Regions from separate parts of the Homo sapiens genome. Here region 1 is linked to region 2. The links are contacts of gene promoters, found by promoter capture Hi-C in blood cells and fetal thymus (Javierre and others, 2016). All regions are on one chromosome and are shown on one strand. The core of a region is centred on a gene start or on the middle of the fragment in contact, and the rest is flanking DNA. Distances in the headings are between cores, read along the strand shown.

Region 1 (2,700 bases), core at 195-2,694, 1.5 Mb before region 2:
GACTGTTTTATAAGTAATCTATCATTTTTCTACTTATTAAAATGTCGTCTTTAAAATATACTAATTAGGAATGTAATCATGGATGTGTTTCTGAGATTTCCATTTGGTTGCAATAATCTATTTTGCATTGGTACTTGCATTGAAGTATCAATATGATACTTCTTAAATTATGGGTTTATATGACATTTTAATATCTAAAACCCCTGTTTTATTATTCTTTTCTTCCCAAATTTTAGTGTTTCCAATTCCTTTGCTTTTCCATATTAGGTCAAGTTCTAAGTAACAACTAAAACCTTTAAGATATCTATTTAAATATATCTGTATCTATATAAACATATGTCTAAACATAGCTTTAGCTATATAAATCAATTAGAAAACACTACCATCTTTTCAATACCTTGTCTTCCCATTCAAGAACATGGATTATATCTCTATAAAAGTCTTCTATTCCATTCTTCAGTAAAGTTTCATGGTATTTTTATGTCTGTTACTTAATCTGTTGTGAATGGAATCTTTTATATTTTCTAACTCATGACTTGTGAGATACAGGAAATTCTACTGACTTTACAGAAGTCAATGGCAAATAATTATTTTGTCTCTTCTTTTCCAGTCTTTGTTTTCTTTCCTTATTTTACTGTTTTGCGTAGCACTTCCACAATAAGAGTTATCATGGCTCTCTTCATCTTATTCCTACACTTAAGAGGCTTTTATCAGAAAATATGACAAAATGAACAAAAGGAAACAAAATGAACCACCCAATTCACACCCATCCTCTTCACTCTATCATTATACTACTTTGTATATTGACAGCCCATTGTTTTACCTGACAATTTTTGTCAACAACTTGCTTCAGCATAAGCCTTACATTCCTTTAATAGATCAAAGCCTGGGCTGATTCAAAGGCTCACCTTGGACCCAGATGCCAGTCTGCCTCCTAGCTGATCATACTTCAAGGTAGTGATAGCTGCTTTGTGACCATTGAAGGTCACATTTCCTTCCCCACTCAGGAGACTGAAGATTCGGATCGACCCATCCTCATACCCAACAGCTAAGTGTAGCCCATCTGGGGAGGGGCATAAGCAAGTAACTTCTTGTTTAAGCCCCTGAAGGATAAGAATCTGAAATCATAAAAATTAAAAACAATGTAGAAGAGTTAAGCATGAACTCAAGGGAAAAGCATAGGAATACTCAGGCACAGTAAAATTAAGAGCACCAATAATTCCAAATTACTCTTATGAATAAAAATGAAACTCCACAATCCATTTCAAGTTTTTTAATATAGAAATTAGTATTTGTACTAGGCAATGAAACATTTAAGAAAAGGCTTAATTATTTTCTCCAAAGCCCTACGTTGTTGTAATACATATAAAAACTCCCTAGGCAATAAAATAAATTTAATCCCTTTAATCTAATTCTTAACCCTAGAACAACACTACGTGATTTTCAATAAAGGTTTATAAATTCCTTTAACTGAGACCCATTTTATAAGAAAATAATCTGTGTGGCAACAGAGTACTGCAGTGGTTTTAACCACAAAGGACTCTTGGTGGCAACAAGAATCAAAGTACTAACCTCTTGGGAATCACAAAATGAATGGACAATATCAAAATGCCTATATTTGGTTTGGCAAAAGTGGTAGGCTTAGGGAATTCAGTCACACAAAGTATCAAAGTCTACTTTAACAACACTTGGGCATTATCCATATTAGAAAAAGATTCTGCCAAAATAGACTAACCTTCCTTTTACATGCCTAATATTTTATAACCAGCTATAAGCATAAGTCGAGCTTGAAAAATAGAATTGGTAGAGAAAAAATACATCAGGAATAAATAATTACTGCAAATAATGACCTGTAAATATTCCAACAAATAGACATCTAAGAAATAAGCTCCTATTTCATTGTGGTTTTCAGAATTCAGTGGCGAAGAACACAAAGGAACTTGATGCTTGGCTAGCTAGACCTAAAGGAAAAAGATTTTTCTTCTAAGGGCACAGACACAAAAAAACTCATGATAAATAAATCAGAGCCCCCCCACTTCTACTACCTCTCCATCCTCAAATACCAATAAATCAGTATCAAACTGGTCATTTTAGGCTCACCTTCTCTCCTTTCCTTAAGTCCCAGATGAAAACGTGTTCACAAGCTGGTACTGCCACATAACGTCCTTTCTCACCACGAAGTGTCACAAAGACAATATTACCTTTTTGGCTGCCGATAACGCCAAAGACCGCACTAGCAACATAGCGTAGGTACTGCTTGGTGAGCCCCATGTTGTGATGTCTGATACCACAGGTGAAGCAATCTGTGCATATAAACAAAGAAAACTCAGCTCCTTGGGTGCCTTGGTTCTACTAGGTTAGTAAACACCAACTGTTTTTTTGTTTTTGAGACAGAGTCTCACTCTGTTGCCCAGGCTGGAGTGCAGTGGTGGGATCCTGGCTCACAGCTGACTCCACCTCCTAGGTTCAAGCGATTCTCCTGCCTCAGCCTCCCGAGTAGCTGGGACTACAGGCATGTGCCACCATACCCGGCTAATTTTTTTTTTTTTTTTTTTTTTAGTAGAGATGGGGTTTCACCATATTGGCCAGGCTCGTCTCGAAAGCCTCACCTCAAGTGATCCATCCGCCACGGCCTCCCAAAGTGCTGGGATTACAGGTGTTAGCCACTGCGCCAGAACAACACCAACTGTTGATCATGTC
Region 2 (2,700 bases), core at 64-2,563:
GGCTGAGGCAGGAGAATGGCGTGAACCTGGGAGGCGGAGCTTGCAGTGAACGGAGATCGCGCCACTGCACTCCAGCCTGGGCGACAGAGCGAGATACCGTCTCACAAAAAAAAAAAAAAAAAAAAAAAAAGTGCACTTTAGATGTTTTCCTGGTGGGGGGGGGGGGGAGTGGGATATAAGTAGCAGTGTTCCAAGTACCAAAACCTCCCTGAGTCATCTGTGAAAAGCCATTTGGCAATAATACTGAAAGCTTTTAAATGCTCACATTCTGACTTAGCAGTTTCACTCCTGTGAATATAACCTAAGGAAACTGATCTCAATACTGAAAGGACTTTATACACAAGAATGGGCTGGGCAGCAAAGTGCTGTAATCCCAGCACTTTGGGAGGCCGAGGCCGGGTCGAGGGAGAAGCACCTGAGGTCAGAAGTTCGAGACCAGCCTGGCCAACATGATGAAACCCCGTCTCTACTGAAAGTACAAAAATTAGGTGGGCGTGGTGGCAGATGCCCGTAATCTCAGCTACTCAGGAGGCTGAGGCAGGAGAATCTCTTGAACCTGGAAGGCGAAGGTTGCAGTGAGCTGAGATCGCGCCACTGCACTCCAGCCTGGGCGACAAGAGCGAGACATCGTCTCAAAAAACAAACAAACAAACAAACAAACAACCAAACAAAACAAAAAAGAATGAATAATTTATAATCGTGAAGCTTTGGAAGCCACTTGAATGTTGAACATTTGCGAGATGCTCAGAGAAGTGACAGCGTATCAACCCAATTTTTTAAAGTCCTGCCATTAAAAATTATAGGTAGGAAGCGTCAGTACTAACACGGTGAAAATGTTCATGTTACAAAGTGGAAAACAACCCTGGATTCAGTTTAGTATGTGCGTTTTACCACAGCTATGTAGAAACAAATCCATACACATGGAAATCGAATGAAGTGAAACGCATGCAAATGGTAATGATGCTGTGCTTGGAGGCAGAATTGGAAGCAGTGTTAAAGTTATTTATCATCATTCGTGTTTTTAAAATGCCGTGTGATGGCCGCAATACTTCTGTAACGAATGATGTTTAAGCACGGAGCCCTTCACTGGCCGACGCGCGGGTGGGAGATAGGAGCCGCGCCCAAGCTCAGGTGGCGGCTGCGGGCAGGGCCGCCTGGGGCCGCAGCCGGGCGCGCTCCCGGCGGGGACCCTCTGCTCTCCTTGCAGACGGAGGCCGCGCCGGGTTTGGAGGCATCCCACAGCCTCAGGCCGAGGACCCGCCGCGAAGCGCCGCCTCCGCGGGTTGACCCTCTGCAGCCGCCGTAGCGCAGAGACGAATCCGCGCTCCCCCAGGCTGTCGCGCGAGCTCCCCGGAAGCTCCCACCTGAGCGGCGCATCCTCAGGGCCTGGGCCTGGCCTCCTTGCCTGTGAGATGGCACTGTGACGGTGCCCACCTCGTGGGGTGTGTGAGGGCCGAGTGAAATCGTGCATTTGCGGTAAGAAAGTGCTTATCACGGTGCCCAGTCCTAATATGGGCTGCCAGCCTAAGTACAGAGTCCCAATCCCAGCCCAAAGGCCAGTTTCCAGGTGAACCCTTGTCGGGGAGACCACCAGACGGAACAGTCCCAGTCTACACTCCTGCACCGAGCAGGGGACAGTGTGGACCGCAGAGAGGTCCGAAGTCCCTTTAGAATAAGGATGGTGCTTCAGGGTTGTTAAAAGGATTAAATGAGATGATATCTAAAGGGATTAGCACAGTGGCTGGTGCTAAAATAAATCATTTTCTCTACTGCCACTGCTCTTACAACCAGACGCCTGGAACAGCCTGCTGGTTCGTCTCCTCATTTGTAAGCTGGAGTTAGTAGGTGTGTTGTGAAGGTTGAGAGAATATGCATAGGCAGAACCTGGCGTTTAATATTTGGGAAGTGGCAGCAATTCTTTCTTCATTAATCTACAAGCTGCACTGTGGTAGGCACATACCCTTAGCACCGATTCTTATAAGTGCAGGTAAGAGAGAGAGAAGATATATTGTGTAAGTCGAAGGAGCCAGCCGTGTCCAGGCCACCGCAAAACCTCGACAGTACTGTACCAGGGCCCTCTTCAGTGAATGAATCTCCTCTTTGGCCTGTTTGCTGTCTGTTTGCATTTGCTGCACCCATCAGTTCCCAAACCTGGTCTCTAAAGTCAGGAGCTCAAGGAAGCTTGTCCCAATCCTAGAAAACAAGTACAGCACACACCAACAGCAGCATCCCTAAAAGCCAGCCCTACTGGCAATGCGGGCCCTGCAACCCGTAGGTAAGTGGGACACTCTAAGCTTCTTGGAAACAGCTAACTCAGGGCCTGATTAGCTTACTCCCGCCTCCTGTCTTCAGGAAATCAGACTGTGTAAAATAAGAGAGAAAAGAAAATTGACATAAGTCTATTCCACTGTCTAATGAAATGTGTTTCACTTGTGTTTAAAGTGAATTGTGGGCTGGCGTGGTGGCTCATTTGCCTATAATCCCAACACTTTAGGAGGCCAAGGCAGGCAGATGGCTTGAGCTCAGAAGTTTGAAATCAGCCTGGCAACATGCAAAAACCCCATCTCTACAAAAAATATAAAAATTAGCAGGATGTGGTGGCGCATGCCTGTAGTCCCAGTTACTCTGGAGGCTGAGGTGGGAGGATGGCTTGAGCCTGGCAGGTCGAGGCTGCAGTGAGCTGTAATCATGCCAGTGCAC

The links. The method cuts DNA at HindIII sites, captures the fragments that hold promoters and counts their contacts. A CHiCAGO score of 5 or more calls a contact.
Region 1: a fragment that was not itself captured here is called in contact with the fragment with the promoter of ATP1A1-AS1 in region 2 in 1 of 17 cell types (total B cells); the score reaches 5.5 in total B cells.

Annotation. Positions count from the first base shown.
Region 1 is chr1:117,932,891-117,935,590 of GRCh38, reverse strand. It overlaps WDR3 (WD repeat domain 3), which reads right to left. Exons shown (of 27, transcript NM_006784.3): 2 at 2,101-2,303; 3 at 909-1,118. The coding sequence starts at 2,271. Among named protein-coding and RNA genes, the nearest start is that of WDR3, 4.5 kb to the right of the region's middle. The HindIII fragment of the contact is 2,966 bases long and covers 1-2,700 here.
Region 2 is chr1:116,417,235-116,419,934 of GRCh38, reverse strand. It overlaps ATP1A1-AS1 (ATP1A1 antisense RNA 1), which reads left to right and starts at 1,313. Exons shown (of 3, transcript NR_027646.1): 1 at 1,313-1,476. RefSeq lists a silencer at 1,105-1,234 and an enhancer at 1,194-1,488. The HindIII fragment of the contact is 1,476 bases long and covers 708-2,183 here.